2 separate regions of the Homo sapiens genome follow, and region 2 is linked to region 1. The links are contacts of gene promoters, found by promoter capture Hi-C in blood cells and fetal thymus (Javierre and others, 2016). All regions are on one chromosome and are shown on one strand. The core of a region is centred on a gene start or on the middle of the fragment in contact, and the rest is flanking DNA. Distances in the headings are between cores, read along the strand shown.

Region 1 (6,039 bases), core at 904-3,403:
ATTGTGAATCACACCACAGACTAGAAGCACCCTGAGGGCAGGAATTACTTCGTATGAGAACACAAAATTCTCATGTGTCCTCTGGTCTGTGTTTGTGGATGGAGGGTGTTTGATGACTATGTTGACGGTAAAAAGCTATGGTGGCTAAAAAGTATACCCTTTACTCTTGGAGAAACTGATGTAAGGCCAGATGAAATCTTCTACTGTTACCATTTTGGACTTCATCTCAGAGGAAAGGTATATTTGACACTATCTATTAAAATGTTGATACCAGATGACTCTGTCAACAAATATTATGCTTTTTCATGATAGTCTGTCATCTAGAGCATTTGTAGTGAATTTTTTGCTACTAAATAAATAAGCAAAGACATTAAAAAATAACCTGGTACAGGTTTTAAAATAATCTTAGGAGGAAATGAATGTTAAATTAGGGAATTTAGAAGTTTCTTTTCAAAATCAATTTCCTTTAATTAAGGGTAAATTTTAATTTACAGTATCCCTCAAAAGAAGCTATCTGGAAAATTTAAAATGTAATTACTTCTGTGTTATTCATAACAATTCACAATGTCATAGAAAACAAATAATGATTAGTCTGTCTTGACCTCTTTCCATTTCTGATTATATAGATCTACCCTGCAGTCACTTTGCATTTTATATTTCCATGCACAGATTTCCATTGCATGGCACATATTCATTTTCAAAACACCGGGCAAAAATGCTAGTGGTTTTATATAACTGTGTTAACAATGGCTGGTTATTTCATTGCACTTAAAAGTTAAAACCATAATGACTCCCAAGTCAACGGTTTTGACCAATTTCAAGACTACCTTCTCTTTTTGTTCATTCTGGCATATGTGACACAGGCAATAGTAGATATACAATGAAATACTAAGTGGGTCTGGTACTGTAAATGTCATATTCTGGGTAGATGTGAAGTCTTAACTTGACATCTATGAACTTCTGAGGAGGTGGGTGGCCCACAGTTTTCTCTGAAAGATTAACTCAAGAGGATAAGATAGTCATGTAAAACATTTCAGGCTAAGAAGCTTCCTATTGAATACTGGCCATCTCCAAATACCGCCATCTTAACAGGAATGGGAATGGAATTATTAGGAAATTTTGACTTTGACTTTTCCTTTGCCTATACAGGTAAAATTTAAATTCTAGGATGAAAGTTTCACAATCTGGCTTGAAGATACTAAAATAAACCACCTTATTTTTAATATTTTGTTGGTTAAAAGAATGCTATAATCACATCCTCCTAACTTTTGTCTATAGTGACAAGTTAATTTTGCTAGAACAATTTGCAGAGATGCTGTTTGATATCAATAAGTATCTGCACTTTTAAAACACAGCCATACCATCTTGGTAAATGTTTAACACTGATGGAAAATTAACAGCTAGTTTCTTTAAACTGTTATCTCCAAAAATAAGACTAGTACAGTATTTAGAATTTCCAAAAAAGTATGGCTTGAAAATCCAAGCTGTTTAAGGCAACAGCAATAATTAGAAAGTTTAAGTCTCTGCTTAACTGTCAAATAGGGAAGGGGGGGACAAGAGCATTGGCCACATTCCTCTCCTATTTTGTTAAATCACAGTATATGAAAGAATTCCTCCACAGAATTGCTAGAAACCAATTTGCAGTCAAACTGTTAGCAGTTCATCTGAAATTTAAAATAGGTTTAGTTTAGTCAATGAACCTAGAATAAGAAAGGGCCTATTTCTTTATGAAGCAGGTGGGTTCCAACTTCTCCCTGCTGCTCAAATAAAGTTCTAATTAGTTCCTCTTGATTCCTAAAATGTAGATGCATATTTCACAAGTATAAAAATTACTTTTACCAGTTTTAAACTGTGTTCATTTGGGAGCTAATTTTTTAGATTTAGTCATTTTAACTACACAATCTTGTAGTGGAAGGCATCCAGTTTAGGAGTTTCAGTCAAATTTGCACTGCACTATGCCAAACTTCAGTTTATATGCTCCGAATGGGTATGTGCAAGTATGCATCTAGTTAACAAAACGTTGTGTTTTCCCAGATATTTTCAATAGTTTTATGACAAGTGAAAAAACAAAGTACAGATCAGAATTAGCACAAAAAATTCTGGGCACCTAGACTTGGATTTCATGAGTATGATACTAACTTATTGTTAATATTCAGGGGGTTTCTATTTCAGCAACATGTAATACACAAATCACTAATAAAATAAGTGATACGTCTCACATGGAATTACTGCTTCCTTCCTCCTCCAGTTTAATGTCACCACAAAAAAACTCGGAATCAGATTTTCCCTGAATCTGATACAGGGTGTACAGGGATGGACATGTGGCGATGGGGAGAGTGCAAACAAAAACAAGCTAACTCCTTAGTGAGAACAGCAGAAAACAAGCTAATTTTTTAGTGATATTCCTATTTTGGCCAAAACCTTTGTATGAAATAAGTTACAGCAATAAACTTGCTTTAGACTCCCTTTTTATGATTGAGAACTTTCTAATGAAATAGTTACATATGAGACAGTAGAAAATCTATTAGCATAGAGTAGACATTCAGTAGTGATTTTTAAGGTTTTTCTTCCTAACTGTAGCATATTAGATTTTTTTTTTTGGTAGAAGAAGAAAACCACAGTACCACCCAGGATGATGCCAAGTTTTAAGTTTTTTTTTAAGTTTATTTTAAAACTGAAGGCAGATTATTCATAAAATCATTCTGGAGACTTATTTGGGTTTCTACGACATGTACACAGACAGCCTCTACTGTGCTATATATATTTTGATTACTAGGTATAATGAATACTCTAAACCAAGAGAGTGTGTTTAATGAATAGTATCTTTAAAAGGAGACGATTTTTAACCTTCCAAAACTGAAGAGAACCATCCCTGGCCTTCTTAAAAGATTATAAAATAATGCACACATTTAAAACAATAAATTTTGCCTTCTACTTTTGAGCATGGAATTTAGTTATATAGTAGAGCTGGGGCCTCCAACAAAATCCAGTCACAAACTGACATATTTACAGCGCTGTCAACCAGGTACTTTATGCCCATTCAGAACATTTAAGGGTCCCAATTAACTACTGTGAAACTCGGGACTCAGCCCCACATAAAACTATTAGAGAACGTTTTTTTCTTTTAATCCATGAGAACCATATGCTTAATTTATACTGTAGGATGAAAAGATGTCCTTTTTAGCAAGTTCTACCATTCTGCCATTTTGCATTTGAAACACGGCCCAAGTGTTCTGACTAAGTGAAGTGTACAAATTGTGTAAGCTTTTATATAAGCAATGGTATAAATGGGGTTGCAGTGGGCTGGAGAAACTTTTAATTGCATCCCTTTAATATCCTCCAACTCTGAGCTGCTTAATTCCAAAAAGTGATGTCGCCTCCTACAACCCTTTTCAACTAAATATGATTATGTTTATCAGGAAATGCACTTTGCTAAAGCATAAGCTATTCATGAATATCTTTCTCAGCGTATTACACAAGGAAATTCATCAGGTTTTGACACCTGTTTCAATAATGTATACTTTTCCTAATAAAAGAGGAACTTCTGTCCTGGTATATACACAATCTCTTTGGCAAATATTGTTAAATATTAAAATAAGGTGATCTTTGTTCACAGCCAGGAATACTGGCTTAGGTCACACATAATGCAAATTATTGTTTCAGTATTGCCATTCTCAGGAGTAGTAGCTGCTAACTTAGCAGCTATAGGAACACACCTGCTAATTGTATTCTTTAAAATGTAGACTTCATTACCCATTTCTAAAATATCTTCCTAGTAATTTGTCCAAGATCTCCAGGTCAGCAAAGACTGCTACTCTTTTAAGACCAATACTTTAAGAAACGGAATGAAAACTAGGAACTCACACACTCTGAACTCCACCTGCATCAGGTGGCCTTTCTGCTCCCATAACTAGGACGTTTCCAAATGCACCCCCAAATAAGGTACAATTCCCCAACATCCTAGTTACGGGGTTCTGGCTTCTATCTTTAGGCTACTGGAGGACCAGAAGCGAAATACGACTCCACGTGAAACCAATCCCGGGAGCGGTCAGCACGGACCGCCAACCTCACCCGCTCAGGGTGTTCGCTCTAACTCCACGGGAGTGGCGATTTCAAACCCGGCCGGGAGAGGGAGGGATCAGGAACGTAATGTGACGGGCTCAAGTGACAGCGTCCTCTCTCCAGCCCAACCCTCCCGGGCGGCGCTCCCTCCCGGTGGCAGCGCAGCGCTGGCGCCGGCCAGGTACATTCACGCCTAGCTCCCCTGAGTGTGGATACACGGCCCGCTCCAAGAACGGGGTCAGATCCAGCCCTCGCGCCCCAGTCCGGTCCCAGCGCCCTCTCTGGGAAAGGCGGGCGCGGGCGCGGGGGTGGGAGGCGCCCCCAGGTGTTTTGGCGGGTTTCCGGACACGTGCGCCCGGCGTCCTCCCCGCTTCCCCGCAGCCGGGGCAGAGCCCACCGCACCAGCTCGCGGAGCAGCCGAGCCGCCCGTTACGCCGCTCACCTCCGTCCCCGTAGGTCTCCACGCCGTACCCGTCTTGCAGCCCGTTACTCCAGGTACCCTCGTAGCGAGCGGGGGTGCACAGGCTCTGCCGGACCCCGTAGCGCCCCTTGAAACCATGTGACCACTCCCCCCGGTACATCCACTTGCCCTTCGTCTCCACCCCCAGCCCGTGCCGCTTGCCCTGCGCCCAGTAGCCCTGGTAGGTGTTGCCGCTGGGCCAGGTGTAGCCTCCGACCACCTCGAAGCCGTGCGACCAGGAGCCCGAGTACTCGCCCTGGCCCTTGGGCCCCGTGCAGATGCCATGCCCGTGCGCCTTGCCCTCCTCCCAGCCGCCGCAGTAGGTGCCGCCATCGTCGAAGTCGAACCTTCCGCCCGTCATTCGGGGGGCAGCCCCGGCGCGCTCCCCGCAGGGGCACGGACGCGGGCAGTGCTGGGCACGGCAGGGTGTAGCTCGGGGGTGGGGGCCCGGCGGGCGAGCTCACGACAGCGCCCTGGGCAGCTCGCGCTGCCGCTCGGCTCCAGTCCGACGCCGCCCCCGTCCTCCCTCCTCTTTTGCCGCCGCCACCGCCGCCTTCCTCCTCCTCCTCCTCCTCCTTCGCCGCCGCCGCCTGGGCCAGCGCCGCGCGCGAGAGGACAGCCCAGGTTCCCGAGCGGACCTTCAGCTGCTCCCGCCCGCCCACGTGAGCCGGGCACCGCCCCGCGCCCGCCCCTCGTCCCCTCCCCGGGCGCCGAGGCCCGGCCCCGCGGCGCTCCCGCCCCACCGGGCCCTGCCCCCAGCCCCGGGAGCCGCCGCTTCCTCGGCAGGCGGGCGCGCGCGGGGACCGGCTGGCGCGCATGTGTTCGCGCAGTGGGATGCCGGTGGGAGGGCGAGTGTACCCGGGGACGCACGAGAATCCCTGCCTGGAGATGAAGGCGCGGCTGCCTGTGTGGGGGCCGCTCGCGGGCGCCGGAGCCCCCGGTGTTTGTGTTTGGGGTTTTTCAAAGTGGTTAAGCTCCTGTGAGTGCGGCCACGTGTGTGTTGAGGGAAAACTCATTGTATGCGTGTTTGTCTGCATGGGGTTTGTAGTTGCATTGTTTTCGCATTCCAACTTGTGTACTGTTGCATTTGTCATGCTCAGCTGTCATCGTGAATTAATATCGCCTAGATATATGTATGCATGTGATGTAAATCTGCGGCAGCCTAGATATAATTGTGCAGAGTGTTCTTTTACACCTACCCGTTTCAAAGCACACGTGTTTGCATTTATTTAATGAAGACACTGAGGGTGAGCAGTACAGTTTGAAAAAGCACAGAATATATTGGTTAGTTTTTTATTAATAGTGATGAAGAGGATGTTTTCAATCGGCCTTTGCAGTGGTACAGGATATTCCTTTTACATTAGAGCCTGCCCCCTCTCGTGCCTCGTTTGTGCTTCTTAACAGCCTTAGAGATTCTTGAGCCTGGAGCTGTGTGCCCAACAGGTAGACGGCTCGGTCTGTGTACATTGTATAAGTGTCTGGAATGCACACCTCTCCACTGGTATCCACTGTTTAAG
Region 2 (5,674 bases), core at 1,603-4,102, 440 kb before region 1:
TCACTGCACTCCAGCCTGAGCAACACAGCGAGACTCCATCTCAACACAAAAAACAAGAACAAAACACAATTAACTTAAATATGCTGTTCTTATCTGTCTCTTCTTATGAGACTATTTATTATTAAATCCATGAGGGCAGAAATCTTGTCTGCTTTTGTTCATTGCTATAACCACAGCAACTAGATAAGTGTCTGACACATAGAGGTCCCCCAAAAGATAACTGGCTCAGTGAATAAACAAAGTTGATAATTTTATTGAAGATTTATGTATAATCTAGTTGTCTTAAAAGAGCCAAATGTTGCCATTAAGATAGTCAGGATATAAATTCTGTATAACAAAGATACAGAATAACCACACAGAAAGTAGGGTTGTCTTTCAAAAAGCTTGACATATATATTAAAATATTCTTAAAGATACTACCAGCAAATCTGCACTAGATATTTTAAAATACAAATAAAAAGGGAAAGACTTTTCAATAAATATAGGAAGCATCCGTTTTCCATTCCTCTAACCAGAAAACACAGAAGAATAGAGAGTGATAAGATTTCGATGGAACAAGGTGAAGGAAAAACTTAAAAGGGTGGTAAGAGTCTGAGATAGTAATACTTAGGGCACAGAAAAATGCACTATTGCACTGTCAATCAAGTATTTGTTTCCAATTCTTAAGACATCATGTAGGCCAGGCACGGTGGCTCACACCTGTAATCCCAGCACTTTGGGAGGCCAAGGCAGGCGGATCACCTGAGTTCGGGAGTTCAAGACCAGCCTGACCAACATGAAGAAACCCCGTCTCTACTGAAATACAAAATTAGCTGGGCGTGGTGGTTCATGCCTGTAATCCCAGCTACTCAGGAGGCTGAGGTGGGAGAATCGCTTGAACTCGGGAGGTGGAGGCTGCGGTGAGCCAAGATCGCCCCATTGCACTCCAGCCTGGGCAACAAGAGCGAAACTCCATCTCAAAAAAGAAAAAAGACACCATGTAAAGTTCAAGTTCAAGATTACCAACCTCTCTCTTACAAACAAATCTGCCTTTTCCAGATACTAAATCTAACGAGATGACACACTACGTTCTCTTGTCAAATACAAGTGTTGTGGATTTTAATCTTAATGTTTAGCCTCAAATAATGTTTTAATCTTAATACAGATAATAATCTTAAACTTGTCATAAAAAATGTTTTAATCTTAACACAGATAAAAATCTTTAAGTGGTAATGTAGCCTATTGCATCTACTGTTCAACTAGCATTCCACTGTTCCTTTTTTGGCCTCAAATGACGAAACTTCTCCAACGTCTCTGGGGAGACTAGTGTAAAGTATAATGTTTCCTGAAATTGTTCCTGTTTTTTCCCTGCACCATTCGTGATATCTCTTCAACTAGAAATGTTACATAAAACTTTTCTGTTCTGCAGGCAAGTCCAGAGGGAGAAGCAAGGTAAAGAGAATATTGTAAGGAAAACAGGTTGAAAGGGGAATAACATAAAAGCACAGGAGTAAATGTGAAGCAAAGCTATATTTGTACAAAAGAGGAAGAAGATGCAGAAAAGGGAAGAAAAACACTTTTAGCAGAGTAAAGAAAAAAAAATGGAGGAGGAACAGAGACTTGCTTCTTCCAGAAACAAAAGCAAAAAACACTTCTAAGAAAATGTGGTCTCTTTACCCAAGGGGATATTATGAAAACGCTAAAGGGTACTCAGCTGACACTCCTATTGAGCGTTCTACTTTCTCTTCCAATGCCTTTGATACCGCTAGTCTTCACCTGTGAATTAAATGCAGGCTACAGATAACGCACTCAATCCCTGCACAACTACAATTGTGGTTGCCATCTTTGCCTGGAAACAAAAAACAAAAAAACCCACAACTCCCTAGATTCGGGAAAAAGGAGTAAATTAAGTTGGAAAGCCAGAAAACCACGCCTTGCTAAGTCGGGGGGATATGGCACAGGTTAACAAACGCCTCCTACCAAACTAAGGTTCCACTAAAGGTCTGGGAATAAGGGCAAAGAGATGTATAGCCTTATCGCGACCGCAAGGGTGGGGCCTTGCAGTGGGAAACAAAATAGAAGGCAAGCTATCCCGAGAGGTTTAAGGGGGCTGAGGACTCGGCTCTCGGGAGATCGCCCATCAGGCGGTGGACACGGGGCAGCTTCGAGAGGAAGGAGACAGTGGACTGCTGGAGGAATGTCCGCGAGAATACCGAGGCTGATGGAAATAGAAGATACCCACGGGCACAGGATTAAGAGTCAAAGGGAAGAAGAGAGGGACGGGGCCGAGCAGTCTGGGGGGCCCGGCGTGGGAGGCCGGAGCAGAGGCCGCTAAGCGCCGTCCGCAGCCAGCCGCCTTCTCCGGAGACGCATTCTCGGCTCCCGCACACTCAGCCCCCCGCCGCCCCTGCCCCGGCAACAACCGCGGGCGCAGCTGTTTCCGTCGGGCCAGGGACAGCGGGGGTAAAGGCAACCCTGGGGCTGGCGGGCAGCAGACTGGCAGCGCCCGTGTGTGTGTGCGGGGAGCCGATTCTGAGACCGCCAACGCCAGACTTTGCCCTTTCTTCCCCAACCCTCCTTTATCACCCAACTTCCCGGCCGGCTGGTGTCCGCTTCGACCGACGGATACCGCACCCCCCACAACGCCTCTCGCCGCCTCTTACCCCTCCCCCGACGCCCTGAGCTGAGGGAAAACAGGCCACCCGGACCGATCCCGAACCCGCCCGGGTGTCCCCGAATCGCGGACGCCACCCCCGCCCGAACGCTGGCACTCTCTCGGCGGCTCCCTGGCCCGCCCAGATGCAGCAAACTCCTCTCACCTGCATTGACGCCATGATGGAACCATCCCCCCAAGACCGGCGAGGCCAGAGACGCAGGGGGAGGAGCTGCCGTGCTCGCGTCACGCCGCGGGGGCTCAACATCCCGGGCGCGGGGGCGGGGTCTGCGATGGGAAGGGGATGGAGCGAGGGGATTGGCTGGCGCGCAGGGCGGACGGGAGGAGGGGCTACGGGGCGGGGCGAGGGCGCGGTAAATGGCGCTCTGAGTACTTTCTGTCTCAGTCCGGCTGGCCGCTCACGCGTCGGGCCCCCATTTACTCTCGTTACTGAGGAGACACGGCTCCAGTTTTGACCCGACTACGGTTGTTTTCTTCGTGTGTACCGCGAAATGCTGATGACGTCCGGTTCCGCGCAGTTTTTTTCCTATTTCGTTTCCAACCACAGTTGTGCGGTTCACAGATTTTTCCCTTGGGATGTGTTTTCCATACCTCCAAGCCCACTCTCAGAGCCTTGGGGCCCCATAAAACTTCATGCGCAGCTGCTTTCTGGTATTTGCAGACCTGGAAGGCTTCTCGTATTCTTAATTTGGGGAAGAGAGACATAGGTTTCCTTGTACAACGGGATGAGGATTTAAGAGCAGAACGACACTGATATTTTAAAGGCGAGGGTATTTAGATTTGTGGAGCTGAAACTTGCCTGAAAAGGGAGACAAAATTTGGAAGTTTGTTGTGTGCAGTTTCTGCCCCTTACCCCCGCCCTTCACTTTTAAACTGCGCATATATCAACAATAGTTACGGTTGTTGCAGCAGTCTAAATTTGATTATCAGAATTGACCCTAGGCATGAATTTTTTTTTAAATATACCAATGTCGTGTTATATACACTTATACCATTATGTCCAGACTTCTCTTAAGCATAGTTCGTGGTGGGCAGTTTTGTGGTCATTTAGGGATGAACTTGGGTAGGGAAAGCTGAGCATACATAATTTATTTTAGGAATGCACCAGTTCTGCCAACATTTATCAGAAGTCACGTTTTTAAAAAGCTATTCTGGAACTGAAGATGTCATTGGTTTATAAGAGGAAAATGGAAGCCAAAAGCTTACACCTCATGCTCTATCTTTAAAAATTAAGGTGGCAGACACAATGAGTAGAAGGCTTTTATGTTACCAGAATGAAGGCTTAAAATCTGTCATTTTATTGACTCGGCTTTCTTTTTAGAAATTTCTTTAAGATATAAAAGCAATGTGGAATATCACTCTTTCACACTCTTAAAATAGATTACGTTCTCTGGAACTTCTCTAATCTGAAATGTGTTCAAAAAGGAAAAAGATCTTTAAAATACGCCAGTTAGTCTATGGTATAATATTAAACACTATTCATCACTAGAGAAGTTATGGTGGTATACCCTCCCCTTTCTCAGATGTCCACCTTAATGCCAGAAATGAGCGGAGTTTCCCTTTGTTGTGCAAAATGACTGTGTCCTTGAGGGATGTTTGGATGCTCTTGGTAAACCGGAATCAGCCAGAAGCATATCCGGTGTTAGCCTTGTTGTGTCATCAACATTACAACAGTGAGGAAACCCACATATTCCAATGAAAGAGGAAAACTTAAAGAAGAAGTTTCCAGTGTATTTTCTTTGAGATATATTTATTCCTATGACCTCAGAAGATCAGCTTTTACCGTCCAAGGTTCACTTTGCCTAAAAGCTGATTGTTCCTGTGGAAACAGTAGCATCGGATGACCCTACAAACAAAGCATTATGACATCATCAGAGCCAACAACCTGGCATGACAGATACTAATAAGGAAAAAAGAGGTTACAAGAATTCTGACACTCATCACAGTGGATCCAATATCTGGTCCCTTGGGTTTCATATATGTTAGAAGTATCTTCTCAGGAGGGAAAAGTCAATGCCAGTCATATCCTTTCTAGGTAATACTAAATAGCACATAATAACCTGTCTTCTTTTTTTTTTCTTTTTCTTTGAGACGGAGTCTCAGTCTCACCCAGGCTGGAGTGCAATGGCGCGATCTTGGCTCACTGCAACTTCTGCCTCCCAGGTTCAAGTGATTCGAGTAGGTGGGATTACAGGCGCACACCGCCACGCTCTGCTAATTTTTTGTAATTTTTTTGTATATTTTGTAGAGATGGGGGTTTCACCATGTTGGCCAGGCTGGTCTCGAAGTCCTGACCTCGTGATCCACCCGCCTCAGCCTCCCAAAGTGCTGGGATTACAGGTGTGAGCCACTGCGCCCGGCCATTCTTTTGTTAATATTTAATAAAAAGATCCTGACATAGGAGCCAAAACAGTGACTTACAGATGGTATGGGGGGTATATAATTATCTCCAGTGAGCATGTAATGTTAATATCTAAAACACTATTATGCCATGTTTGAAGACTAGGCTCATATTTCTACAGAGCGAGGCTTACTATCATTACTATCAGATAGGCAAAAGTTAAAATGTCTGACAGGATAATGCCAGTGCACTCCAGTCTAGGTGACAGAGCAAGACCCTGTTGTCTCAAAAAAAATATCTGACAATACCAAAAGTGAGAGAGGAAGTGGAGCTCTCATAAACTCTATAGGAGTGACACTAGTGCAATCACTTTGGAAAATAGTTCGGCAATAATGAAGTTAAAGTTTCCCATATCCTTACTGGATCTTCTTAATAGCATCATATGAGTTTTATATATATTTATATATATATTATAAATATATATATTTATATATAATATAAAATATATATATTATATATTTATATATATATTTATATATATATATATATTTTTTTTGAGACGGAGTCTCAGTCTGTCACCCAGGCTAGAGTGCGGTGGCGCGATCTTGGCCCACTGCAACTGCAGCCTGCCGGGCTCAGGTGATTCTCCTGCCTCAGCCTCCCTAGTAGCTGGGACTACA

Evidence for each region. The method cuts DNA at HindIII sites, captures the fragments that hold promoters and counts their contacts. A CHiCAGO score of 5 or more calls a contact.
Region 2: a contact is called between the fragment with the promoter of UBE2W here and a fragment that was not itself captured in region 1, in 1 of 17 cell types (fetal thymus). The highest score is 12.4, in fetal thymus.

Annotation. Positions count from the first base shown.
Region 1 is chr8:74,316,405-74,322,443 of GRCh38, forward strand. JPH1 (junctophilin 1) reads right to left here and starts at 5,136. Exons shown (of 6, transcript NM_020647.4): 1 at 4,505-5,136. The coding sequence starts at 4,883. RefSeq lists an enhancer at 4,203-5,093 and a silencer at 5,187-5,286. The HindIII fragment of the contact is 2,218 bases long and covers 1,045-3,262 here.
Region 2 is chr8:73,876,010-73,881,683 of GRCh38, forward strand. UBE2W (ubiquitin conjugating enzyme E2 W) reads right to left here and starts at 2,853. Exons shown (of 6, transcript NM_018299.6): 1 at 2,799-2,853. The coding sequence starts at 2,813. LINC01617 (long intergenic non-protein coding RNA 1617) reads left to right here and starts at 2,973. Exons shown (of 3, transcript NR_147034.1): 1 at 2,973-4,688. RefSeq lists enhancers at 1,536-1,585, 2,062-2,939 and silencers at 2,326-2,585, 2,606-2,655, 2,796-3,085. The HindIII fragment of the contact is 3,471 bases long and covers 382-3,852 here.